Linked DNA regions of Homo sapiens: region 1 is linked to region 2. The links are contacts of gene promoters, found by promoter capture Hi-C in blood cells and fetal thymus (Javierre and others, 2016). All regions are on one chromosome and are shown on one strand. The core of a region is centred on a gene start or on the middle of the fragment in contact, and the rest is flanking DNA. Distances in the headings are between cores, read along the strand shown.

Evidence for each region. Contacts are between HindIII fragments. The CHiCAGO score rates a contact against its expected background, and 5 or more counts as called.
Region 1: a fragment that was not itself captured here is called in contact with the fragment with the promoter of LRP1-AS in region 2 in 3 of 17 cell types (M1 macrophages, erythroblasts and megakaryocytes); the score reaches 7.2 in M1 macrophages.

Annotation. Positions count from the first base shown.
Region 1 is chr12:57,183,734-57,190,305 of GRCh38, reverse strand. LRP1 (LDL receptor related protein 1) reads right to left here. Exons shown (of 89, transcript NM_002332.3): 36 at 6,397-6,531; 37 at 6,092-6,221; 38 at 5,854-5,980; 39 at 5,316-5,467; 40 at 5,101-5,225; 41 at 4,398-4,775; 42 at 2,850-3,039. Among named protein-coding and RNA genes, the nearest start is that of MIR1228, 7.5 kb to the left of the region's middle. The HindIII fragment of the contact is 162 bases long and covers 2,527-2,688 here.
Region 2 is chr12:57,145,497-57,151,862 of GRCh38, reverse strand. It overlaps LRP1-AS (LRP1 antisense RNA), which reads left to right and starts at 4,244. Exons shown (of 2, transcript NR_131938.2): 1 at 4,244-4,424. The region is part of intron 6 of LRP1 (LDL receptor related protein 1); the gene reads right to left. RefSeq lists enhancers at 1,917-2,844, 4,702-5,630. The HindIII fragment of the contact is 5,560 bases long and covers 3,710-6,366 here.

The DNA.
Region 1 (6,572 bases), core at 1,358-3,857, 40 kb before region 2:
TTATTCTTAACTGCTCTCTTCTGTGCAGGGAGGCTGGCTGTCTTCCAGATCATTCAGGAAGCCCTTGTGGAGCTGAGTGTGGCATGTGTCCCAGGTCCTGGGGTATGTGGGTCCTATCCTCAAGCAGCTCTCAAGAGTCCCCTTCTCCGTACTTTGAGGCCTTTGCATGTTTGGGGTTGGAGCCACCGTTCTGCCTCGTAACGGCTCCAACTTTGAATGAGCCTGTCGCCCCTCTGAGCCCTGGTTTCCTCTCAGTAAAGGAGGCAATGGGAACAGCCAGCCCCCAATTATGCCGTGCTCCTTGTGGGGTGGTGCTGAGGCTGGAGGGGGGCTGTGGAAGGCCTCAGGGCTGGTCATGCACTACCCTGGGTGTGACAGAGTGGTCCTTGGACCACCGGCATTGGATGGTGAGCCCTGGGTCCTCGGTCCCAGAGCTTGTCACTCAGCTAGGCCCAGGGCGGGGCAGGGGACTCCACATTCTCTTGCTCCTAGGCGATCCTTAGGCACAGTGGAGTCTGAGACCACCAAGCCACACAAAAGCCAGCTCCGTTCTCCAGTTCCCTAACAGGACCTGCCCCCGCCCCCACCCCAGTGCCTCTGGCCTCCTCCTACCTCTGCCCCTCACCATTCTGGCCACAGATCTGTCCTCTGGCCTGTGAACTTGTCTCCTCAGACCTCTCCAGGTCACACCCTTCTTGCCCACCCCCAGCGTCTCCAGCACCATTGAACTATCCCGCCTTCTGCTGGGCTCACGTAGGAAAATGGTGCTGCTCTGCCCCTCTGGAGACACTGGCTGCCCTGAGCCTCGGCGAGCTCGTGAGAAGCTCTGATCTTAAGGGCCTCATCCTGGAGGAGAGCAGGGGTTTGCGGTGGCTCTGGAATCGGGATGTAAGTTGGGAGGGAGGCGGCGTGTCCTTCTAGCCTCCATAAGGGAAAATGGGTATCCTGGGGCAGTGGCCAGTCATCTTCCTGGCTTGTCAGGATTGGACTTGGCCTGTCAGTCCCCACCAGGAACTCCTACACCTCAGGTGAAACTACTCACACCTGCAGTGAGAAGTGGTTTTCCTCCTGGCGTCAACAAACTCCTCCATGTGACACAACTGTGGTCTGGGTGAACCTGCTTCCCAGGAATGGGGCAGGAGGGAGAGAGAGGCTTTCCTGGGGTAGGTGCTCAGTGTCCAGGAACATGGCGGACCTTCTAACTATCCTACTGTGAGCTCTACAGGGCCATCAGTGCTCCAGTGCTGACGCGGGGAGGGCTCAGGAGGAGGCTGGGTTGTTGGAGTCTCCACTTGCCCCTGCCCTCTCCACTGGGGTCCACACTGGCTCCTTCTGATTCCCCGAAAGTGCCTGCTCCTTGTGGCCAGGGGGAGGGCCCCTCCTGCCAGCTCAGCTCTTTCTCCTGGGCACTGGGACCATGCTCCCACCCAGCCACTCCTGCCATCCTCAGACGCTGGCTAACATGCCGCCTCTTCAAGGACACGTTCCCTGACTTCCAGGTGGGGCCAGTCCTCAGCACACAGCCACGAAGCTCTTCATGACGCCCCTCGCGCTCCCCACTGGGTCCTCTGCACCTTCTTTGCCCTCAAAAGCCACTCGCTGAATGCGTGATGGAATCCCCTGGCCTCATAAGAAAGGAGCTTGGTGGGCAGCCAGGGGGTCACGTCCTCTGGGACGAGGGCCAGGCAGCCTTGCTGGACCCTCCAGGGAAGCTCCAGACTCATGAGGGACAGGCTCTGAGGCCATCCCCAGACAGGTGAGGCAGCCGAGGGTCATGGAAGGGGGGACTGGACCTTCATCATCAGCTGCAGATGTGCCAGATGACAGAGGCAGGAGGAAACAGAGGGTCCTTGAGCCAGGTTGGAGGTGACTGACATTGGGGGACTGGTGGGGGGAATCTGGGTTCGGGACACTCACGTATCTATACAGCTGCTTTGGGTTGTGTTTACTAGTTTCCTAGTAAAGCTTTTGAAAAACATTCCAAGCACTGCTGAATTGGGAAAAAAATGTTGCTAACATGTGGGCCTGGATCCCTAAGGCGAGGGGGTGGCTCACTAGAGGCCCAAACAGCCGGGATGAGGGCTGCCCCTGCGGGAGAACAGAGCAGGCTGACTGCGGGTGAACCCTCCAGGGGGAGCACCCACCCCCGGGTGCTTTCTGCCACCTGTCCTGGCTTGTGCTCCTAACTCCTCCGCACCCTGACCTCACTTCCTGGCTGGGCTCAGGCCTGCCTATGCTCTATGGCATGCAGAGGTCCCCCTCTGTCCTCCCTGCCTTGAATTTGCCTTTCTTCAGGCTTTTGCTCAAAGCACTTCCCCTGTCCGAGCTGGCCTTCCTTGTCTTTTCCAGTTCCAGGCTCTGGGCCAATCTACTGCCTTCATGACACCTGTGGTCACCCGTATACAGCCCTGTGCCAGTTACCATTACTTCCCACAAGTATGACTTCTCAACCCAGCTAGGTGGCTTGGTAGGCCCAGCCTTAGGCTTCTGTACGAAGGGTTCGACAAACATTCTTTGCCTGAAGCTTTGGATCCCAGAGCTAGAGGCCCTACCCTGTGCCTCCAACATGGTGCTCTGATGAATGAATCAATCACAAAGGCAGAGCGTCCCCCACAGTCCTGATGCTCCCTTTGGTGCAGGCAGCTGGAATCTTAGCCAGCTTGTATCACAGAAGAGGAACCTGAAGCTTAGGAAGCTTTTGCACCTCTCCCCAGATCACACAGCAGGGAAGGGTGGAGCTCAAGTGAGGGCCTGCCTCTCCTGCACCCCCGCTTGGATCTGCCTGGGGAGTTTCTGCCACCCCGAGTCCCACCTCTCCCTGCTACCCCCATCCCCAGGCAGCAGCTCACTTCTGGCACTCGTCCAAAACGAAGGCCCGTGGGTGGTCATCTCCAGACATAGTGATGACGGTCTCACGCTCGAAGGCCCCTGGGCGGGTCTGGTCCACTGTGTGGCGCGTGATGGTGGATGTCGTGTAGCTTGTCCAATAGAGAGTGTCCCAGCCACGGTGATAGGCCAGGCCTTCCACGGAGCCCACGTCTGTGAAGAGACAGGAGCAGCGATTTGTCAGGAGGGCCCAGAGGGCAGCCTGCACAGGAGCCGTGGGGGACAGCCTGGGGCAGGTGCTCTCCTGGCTGGAAGGCGAAGTGTGGGGTATGGGAGTGCAAGAGGTGCAGCAGAGAGGGCTCGGGGGCACCAGGGTCTGACTCAGTGCCCCCAACCTCTGCTGTCCTCACTCAAATGACCTGTGGTCACCTCTCAACCCTCTCCCACTGAGGGCAATCGGGCTTTCTGGTGTGTTTGCACTTTCCTGGAGCTGCAGTTCTGCTGAGCTGAGTGCAATGTAGATTTCTGTAAATCAAATCCTGCTTGGGCTGTACTGGGGAGCCCCCTACTTAAAAAGACCCTGAGCTGGATTGATTATTTTATAAAGCAGACATCTTAAACTCAGGTTAAAGAACCAAGGCACAGTGAGAGACACAGCCGAACAGCAGTGTAAGAGAAAAGACTAGAGTGTTAGTGGCTATAAGCGATGGTGGCTGCCAAAGGGCCATGCTGTGGTATGGTCTGCAGACAGCCGGAGGTGAGGGGACATCCCTTCCAGGGGTCTGGGGATTGATGTGCCAGTCTCTCCTGATCAAGCTACGAGCATGGAGTACCGAGTTTAGCTTCGGATGCTACATTTTTAGACAGACATGCAGGCTGGACTATGTGCAGCAGAAAATGTCCCAGAAAAGGCTGAAAGGACAGGTCTGTATACGTAGCACCTAGTTCGGTGCCTGGCAGGTCTTTATGGACCAGCTGAATGAATATATGAGCAAATGAATGAGTCAAGGGACCCGGTGGTAACCAGGCTGAAGAAGAGAAAATGTAGCAGGATGCAGTTTTCAAAGAGCTGAAAGGCTGTCCTGTGATGACAGCCCTGACACTGTAACTGCTCTTTCCAGAGCACACACTCCGTCCCCAGCATCACTGAGCTAAGCCTTCCTGCGCAGCAGCTCGAGGAATCCTGTCTCAGATGAGACACTCATCCACGCAGATGAGAAGGCTCAGGCTTGGCAAGAGCAGGAAACTGACCCAAGTTATTGAAAGCCCAAGTGACTGGAGCTCAGCCCCATGTCTGCAGCCTGGGTTTGTGAGCGTTGGGCTCCACAGAGACCTCTCGCTTGTTCTGTGCAGCTCTGAAGGCAGAACTAGGACCAGTGGCGGGAGGAAGTCGGGGGCTGACGCTGACTCCAAATCAGGAGTCATGTAACTGCGGGGGTGCAGTTGGATTCAGCTGAGTTGTAGCTGCTGGGATTCAGACCTAGGGTAGAGTGCCTGGCTGGGGTCTAAGAGTCTGTGCTGCTCCCCGCCCCATGTCCCACTTCCTGGGAAGACTTAGGGTCTGGGCTCACTTTCCACAATGGTGATCCTCCTGGAGCCATCGTCGTTGATCTGTTGGATGTTCCCAAAGTGGATGTCGCTGAAGAAGATGCGATTGGGGGTGCCCGGAGAGGTGCCTGCCCGGTAGTCAAAGGCCAGGGCGATGACGTTCTTCATGTGCTCAGGGTCCTCGAAGGGCTGCACGGGCGCATTGAGGTTGCGCTCATCCGACAGGTGGATACTCTTGAGAATGGTGCGCTCTGAGTAGAGCAGGTAGCCGGCATACTCGCGGCACGATGCTCCGTCTTCAGCCAGCATCCCGTGGGCACAGGCGCAGGCCCGCTGCCCACGGCCCCGGTACAGGCACAGCTGCTGGCACCCGCCATTGGCCACCGCGCACACGTTGGTGCCTGGGGGAGGGGAGGGTACAGAGGGCAGGGCCTGCCTTGGGAAAGGCTCACTGGTGCCTTTGTCATCCAGGCTTTGGCGAAAGCTCTGCCCTCTGCCTCGGTATTCCCAGCTTGAATGACCCTCCAGGGCCCAGAGTCCAATGCCAAGATCTGTCCCAGAGCACCTCAGCCTTTCCTCCCCATCCCTGGGTCTCTCGGGCCATCGGAAGTTGCCCCATGGGTCTAACTTGTCTCCCAGCCCTCTCACACTGGGTTCCCTGGGGAGCACTCTCCCAGGCCAGAGTCCCCCTCACCTCTCCACCCCAGCCCAGAGCCCCAGCCTCACCTTTCTGCCGGTCCCGGTTGAAGACTTTGATGTCTTTAAGCTGGACGCCGATGCCGGTTCGCAGGGGCACGGAGTCTGTGGCATTGTCTTTGCTCCCGCGCTTGATAGAGCCGTTGGCATGAGTCCTGAGGGAAGGACAGGGCACAAGCAGGGCATCAGTGGAGGCAGGAGGGAAGGAAGAGATCAGCTGAGGAGGCCAGGACAGAAGCCCTCACCTGTCACTCCAGTAGATGAAATCCTCAAACACAGACACTGAAAACATGTCCATGTTGTTGCTGGACAGAACCACCTCGCGGTTCTCACCTGTCTCCAGGTCGATCCGTTCAATCTTGTCTGTCCGTGCATCGCACCAGTACAGCTTCCCATCCTACAGGCCAGAGGCACCCACCTCACCTCCAGGGCTGAGCTCGCTGCCAGCCCCATGTCTGGGGCAGCAGGGAGTGCCTGGGCCAGAGTGAGGCCCTCAGTTCAGCCTCCCCTAACTCACTCCTGCCTCCTGCATACACTCCTGCCCACTGCCCTGCTGATAAGGTGACCTCCAGGCATCTCTCCACTCCCCCACTCCCCACTTCTGAGCGACCCCTGCCCATCATCTCTGTGGTAGCAGGAGTCCTACTCTGGGTGGAGGGCTGGGCTGGGAGACCCTGTGACTTCCCCTGGGCTCCAAGTCCTCCCAGAATGGGCTCATCACAGGGAACAGGAGCCTGGGTCAGGGGTCTACCATCGGATCCAAGGCCAAGTTGGCGTGCGAACCTGGTAGTCCACTGAGATGCCGTTGGGCCAGCTGATGCTGACGTTGACCAGCACCACACGCTCCGTGCCATCTAGCCGAGACCGCTCAATACGCGGATACTGACCCCACTCAGTCCAGAACAAGTACCTGTAGGGTGGGGGTGGAAGTGGGGGTCAGTCCTCAGACCCTGGAGGAGACAGGGCCTCATCAGCATGGGCCATGGGCAGAATGACAAGGCCAGTCTTTCCAGCTCCTCACCCTTTCTCCGGGTGGACGGTGATGGCCCGGGGCTTGTCTAGACCCTGGGAGATCACCACGTAGCGGAAGGAGCCATTGAGCCGGGCGACCTCGATGACATCAAAGCCCTGGTCTGTCCAGTAGATGTTGCCTAAGGAGGGAGTTGGTGGGGCTCAGGGAGGTTAGGTGAGGACAGGTGGACCTGGTGTCTCCAAGCTCCCAGGCACCCCTACAGCTCCTCTTCCTGCTCCCGCCAACTCCTCCTCTCACTTCGTCCCCCAGTCCTCTGCCACACCCCAAGCCCCACAAACCTGCCCACTGCTCACCTGCGATCCAGTCCACTGCAATGCCCTCCACACGGCCAATGCCATTGGTCACCACGTCTTCACGCCACGTCTGGTCCCGCTTGGCCCGGCTGATCGTGCTCAGGCCCATGTCCACCCAGTAGATGGTGTCATTTTCTGGAGGTGGAGGAGGTGACATGGGGATGCCCAATAAGGCA
Region 2 (6,366 bases), core at 2,995-5,494:
CTCTCCTAAAGTTCAGATTCCTCTGCCTGCCCCACCACACACACACGCACATACGCACGTATGCACACACAAATGCACGCACAATCACACACACACACATACACTTGGCCACCACTCCAAGGCCAGTGTAGAGAGATGGGCTCAAAGGGAGAGGAGGAACCTTGCCTCCAGGGCTGCCCTATAGGCAGTATCTGGGCCACCCCTCTCTGTCTTATGAATTGGGGTCCAGGTGGAGTCCTGGGCTTCAGCCCAGAGATCCTGAGCATTCTGGCTCCACCAACCCTGAGGGGAGCCGTCCCCTTGTCGCCCAGCCTTCTAAGGGCCAACCACCTGAGCGCACCTTCTGAAGAGGCTCTGGCCAAAGGCCGAAAATCCTGAGGACAGGAGAATCTCAAATAAACCAAAGGGGAGAGAGGGAGGCTGTGTTGTGGAAGGAGTTGGGGGTGGTCTAGGGGCAGAGGGGCAGGGGATTCCAGCATGAAGAGGGAGGCTAGGAAGCAGGGAAGAGGTGCAGGAGTCAGACGAGAGACCACAGCTGCCCATTATGGCACAGAGGACTTTCAGTTCCAGGCCCCAGAATAGACCTGGTGTCCTGGCACCCCATCCCACTGCTCAGCATCTGCACTCACTACAACTCCAGCTTTTCTCAACTTCTCCATCATTCCCATTGTTCAAGAGGCATTTCCATACATGGTGGCTGCTTTCCCAAACACATGGGACCCACCCCATGCCCAAAAAGACTCTAGCTTCAGCTGCAGGATTCTAGTCACCTGCTCTAAAATAAGGAAATCGGAAGGAAGGAAGAAGCCTTTATGTCCTGAGAAAATGTCACCCAACACATCTACACACCCAAGAGTGTATACACATCCAAAGAGGTCCCTGGACCTCTATCCACATCCCCAGGGAGCACACTAGATTCTGGCCCTTGTTCCAGGAACCTCCCCACCTCTCCTCATATCATTCTGCTCTGCCCTGGGTCCAACTGGGCCCTAGACACTGACAGCCTGAGTTTGAATTCTGGTTCTGTCACCTTCCAACTGAGGCTATGAGCAAGTTACTTAATGCCTCTGAGTCTCTGTTTCCTCATTTGTAAAACTGGATGGTACACTAACTGCACTTAGCATGAGGCCTGGTGCATGATAAACACTCCCCACATGGGGGCTGCGGTTCCCACCATGTCCTCCCCTCCCTGAACCCATCCTTTCCCACCTTTTCCACCAAGTCGCCCTCTGTGCCTCCAGCCAGAGCCCTGTGGCCTCCTGACTCTAGGTGGGCCCTCCAGGTGGGCCATTTGGGGCTAACACCTACTACTCGTCAAGACTCGGCTCAGGCTCCCAGAAGGAAGCTTGCCCTATTAGAAGGAAGTTTTCAAGGCCAGGCTCAGTGGCTCACGCCTGTAATCCCAGCACTCTGGGAGGCTGAAGCAGGTGGATCATGAGGCCAGGAGATCGAGACCATCCTGGCTAACATGGTAAAACTCTGTCTCTACTAAAAACACAAAAAATTAGCCAGGCGTGGTGGCGGGCACCTGTAGTCCTAGCTACTCGGGAGCCTGAGGCAGAAGAATGGCGTGAACCCGGGAGGCAGAGCTTGCAGTGAGCCAAGATTGCATCACTGCACTCCAGCCTGGGCGACAGAGTGAGACTCCATCTCAAAAAAAAAAAAAAAAAAAAGAAGGAAGTTTTCCTGTTACAGGCTCCATAGGCCTCTGGAGCTTCTTTGATCATGGCCTCTTCACCTGACTGCAAATACTGTAAGGAGAGCGCTGCCTTTTGTCTTTGTCTCAGGCGTCTGACACACATGTATTGATCCATTGAACAAATATTTATTGAAGACTGAGTCTGTTGTTCTAGAGCTGGGACATCATTTTCCCCCTCTCTTCTACTGCCAGGATCCTGCCTCTCTGGCCTTGGGACACTCCAAGACAGTGGGAGAGGACAGTCTGTCTAGTAATCCTACTCAGGGATCTCGCCTGGGCCTGGGAGAGATGGCGGAGAGTCTGAGGACTTCGAAGGTGGGAAGGAGACCTCCTGGCGAGCCTGGCAGAAGCTCTGCTAAACGATGTGGCCTCATGCTCCTTGTTTCCTGCTGGGTCCCGACTTCAGCTCTTCCTTCCACCAGCCAGTCTGGAGCTTAGCCGTGTTGTGTCACCTCGTTCTCCTGGGCTCTCTTCCTGCTCCTGCCTGTGATTCCAGCCTGTGGTTATGTCCTGCTACCTTCCCCTGCCTGGCTTAGGTCCCCAAGAGGCATTTCGACCTAGATCCCAGGGATGATGCCTGGATTCCACTCAGCCCATCTTAGGGTCTTCCCTCTATTGAGAAATCCTTGCCGGGCTCTAAAACACATCTCTCTTGCTTAAGTTACTTCCTTTGGCTTGAAAACAGCAAGGGGAGTGCTGGGAGCAGTCTGGGTGGAGAGGCAATTTCAAGGAGACAGCGGGGGAGGAGAGGACAGGGCTGGATCTGGGCCGGGAGACACAGGGCTGGCCCGGGCCAGGAGAGAGGAGGAGCAAGAGTGAGCTGTTAAATGATTAGGAAACTCAGAACAGGAATGGGAAGCAAAAGTGCCAGGATGCAGGGGGCCTAAGGCCAAAGAGTGGGGTGGCTAGAGCCACCCCTCCCCAAACAGCCTGGCATCCCATGGGTCAGAAAGGCCAAGGATGGGCATGGTTAGCTTTCACATGTGAAGTCTGGAAGTGCTTTGTAGGCAGGGTGGGAGGCTGAGAGGGTCCAGGGGTGCCCAGCACAGTGGGGAGGTAGCACCCCTTCCAGCAGCAGCAGCCAGTTCATTAGACTCAGAGGGACTGCTGTCTGCCCCTTCTTTGCCTCCCCTCTAGACAAATCACTACCCCATTTCCTGTTGTGATTTCGAAAACACACACACTAAAAAAATAAATAAATAAAAGAAAGGGAGAGGAAGGGAAAAGTGAAGTTGGCCAGCTGGACCTGGGACCCATTTCGCAACCTTGCTGCCTGCAGCCTAGGGGCCCTTTGCTGAGCTCCCCAGCCACCTCCTTCTTCCCCATGCAGCATGGTGCAGGGAGGGGAACCCTGAGACCTCTGAGAGCCCCTTCAGACCATCCTTTCACACACAGTCCAAACTCCTGAGTGACTTCAGCAAACCCGATTTCCTTCAAGGCCTCTATTTACAACCTCAGAACCTCCCCTCACCATACACACCCATGTTCCCAGGACCCCAATCTTGCAGTCTGCCTCATTCTTTCTACAGTGGTGGCATCCTCCAAGGTGAAGGGAATACAGATCAGAGGAGCTCAGCTTAGGAAATGCAGGGCTGGGCTGGGGTCGGTAGACTGCACCACCAGGCCTGCCCAGGGGCAGCCTGGCAGGAGGCTGGACAAAGCTGGGTTACAGGCTCCATAGGCCTCTGGAGCTGAGAGACTGGTCAGAGGTGGGGGTGAGAGTGCGCAGGCCTGGTTCCTGACTAAGGGACTATCAGGCCTGTTGATCCCTCTGGGCCTCAATTTTCAGAACTTTAGTCTTTTGTGTATCACTTTCAAAATGTCTACCATGCTTATGTACAGCTTGCGCTACTGTTTATTACCAGTTATTTCAATTAACTTACTTTTCTTATTTCGCTGCATGCTAAACAATTGCTGAAGTAACAGATTTGATGTGCTAGTTACAGGAGTTTCCTAATGCATATCAAATAAAAACGTAACTATAACAGTTAAAAAAAAAAAAAAAAAGCTTGTCCAGGTACCATCTAAAATCAAATCAATGCATAGCCCCTTTGAGAAAGCAGTAGTGAAAGCCAGGGCTGCTCTTGGTACTGGCCAAGGGTCTTGCCTTCTCTTCCGGCTCTCACCATGGAGTTCTCTGGTCTTGGAATTCGAGCCTCATAGACCTCCCCAAACCACTGGGCCAGCGGCAGAGGGGAGGGGGAGGTAATCTCAGGTGGGAGGAAAAGAGATGACCCACCCAATCCAGGGGGATAACACTGGGCCTGAGGCAGGAGGGTCAGCAGCCCTGGGGCATTGAAGAGGAATGTTCACACACTGCAGGGCCTCAGGGGGGCCCTCGGGGGCTCTCAGGACTCCACAACAGGTCTGACTCACATGGCCCAGGACACATGTGAACCAGGCTCATTTCCTGGCCTCCTTCCTTCTTTCTATTCTATTTCTGCTTCCAGAGTTTTCTCTGGGGCAGGCTCCCCCTTCTGCCTGCACCAGCGGGCTGGCCTCGCTGGCTCGAACACCCCTCAATTGTCAGACTCCTCCCTCTGTGTGCACCCCTGCTGCATGAGGCTCAGCCCCAGGGGTCCAACAGAGGTCACAGTCACAGCACAGAATGGAAGGCTTGCAGGGAGGGCTGCCCTGGAGGGCAGAGTGAAAGCAGGGGAAAGCTGCAGCCTTTCTTCTTCGTCCTCCTTGGGGAGCTAATTACAGGCCAGCAGCCACTGTGCAGGTGAGTGCCTGGGACCAGCCACCCTACACACCAGGGCAGGCCAGTCAGCATCTCCTGGGGAGGGGGATGACCCAGAAACTGGGGGAGGGGCTAGGGGAGAGACACTGACGTCCTCAGTTTGGGACCCATAATTAGTTTGTGGGAGAGAGCAAAACAACCATCCTCAGGGTGACAGCCAGACATTCAGGCGGCAGGGACGTGGAGCAGGGGGAGGGCAGGGAGGAAGGGACAGAAGCTGGGATGAGAGAAACCCACTCATTTACCCCACAAGCATTTCCCCTTGGACTCTTCTAGCCTCCTGGACTCTGCCCCTGAGAGGCCCAGTGAGTTTAGCAGACTGGGAGGCAAGGCAAATCTGTTTGCCAAGGGAGGGGTACCAGCTTCTCCTGGGGAGGAAGTCAGATAAGGAGATGAGGCCAGAGTAGAAGTTGAGAAGGTTACCTCCAGGACACCCCATAGCCACCTACCCAGAAGCCCACTGTATGGCAAGATGCAGGGCTGGGGAGGAAACTGACAAGCTGTCTGCCCAGACAGGCCTGTTGAGTAGGTCAGTGGACAAGGAACAGGGGGAGGGCAGCTGCACAAGAGGGTCTAGCACCAATCCCACCCCATCAGCCATGGGGTTCCCTGAGTCGCCCACTCGTTAAGAGCTCAGCCAACCAGGCTTGACAGCCCCCAGCTCAGCACCCCAAGGAGGACACATGTCTGATCACAGGTGAGCTGTGGACAGCAGCAGCCCAAGGACGCTATCAGGGATGCTCTGGAGGAGCCAAAGGCAGAAATGTGAACCTTACGCTGAGGCCACGGAGAGTGAGGGCTCTCAGAGGAACCCCTGCTCGCCACCATCCCGGGGAGGGGCCTTTCTCTCTCCCAGAATGAATCCCTTGTAACCTCCTGGGATCTTTCTTTTCATCACAAGAACCAAATAAAGAAACTTGAAGATCTTCTAGAGAGGCCCAAGGTTCACAATCCTCAACTTCAAAGTGTGCTGTCCTTTACCACTGGCTTTCACTCCAGTTAATCTGATCTAGACAGACAAGCTCAAACCCATTATGCAGATTAGGAAACCAAGGCAGAGATGGGAATTCTGGTTTACTAAACAGTTACAGATCAAGTTAATCTCCCTTAGGGGGTCAGATCAACCACAGGCCAGATTCTTCCTCTCAGCCCTGTGGTGCATTTCTTTGGAAATGTGATGCTGCCAGATGTTGACTTTTAAGGTTGCTGGTGTAACAGCCTCTGAGATGGGCAGGGCTGTTCCCGGCAGTGGGTCTACACCCAGCTATGCTCGTGCCCCTTTCTGTGACACCCCTTCTTCCACAACTAGGATAGCAAAAGTGTAGCCTAGGGAGAAGCCTGAATGGAAGCATCCAGGATATTCTAAAATCTCATGTGGCTCACGCTCCTCTCCCAGCCTCATTCACTGCCACAAAGCCACAGAGAAATAACCTCAGTACTGCCCTCCCCCGATGGCAGCAGAGAGTCCATTGGCAATGGTCCCCGAGGGAAACGATGGCCCATGGAGACAGAGCAGCTGGGCCCCAGCTCCTTTACCCTCAGCTGCAGCCTAACAGGGCACCTCAGGCTTCCGCTCCTTCTTTCCCTAGCCTTGGCTCCCACTGCACCGGAAAGTCCCTCTGCAGTCTAGTCAACACTCCCCTCTCAGAGAAGGGACAGTCCCTGGTCTCTGGAGATTGACCATTCACTGCCCCCTCAGCCCTTGGCCAGAAATGCAGGGGCCATCCAGACACTTGCTCAGAGAGCTGGGAGGGAGCGTGCCGGTGGCTCTGCCCCTGCCTCAAACACACACCATTGTATCCAGCCTCCTGCTTCTCCTGCCCCAGACAGGACCATCCTGTGTAACTCCCGGCCTCTGTTCAAGATAGGGTCCACCTTCCCTGTCTCCCCTACCCTCCCCAGCCCTCCAAGCTGAGAGCAGGTG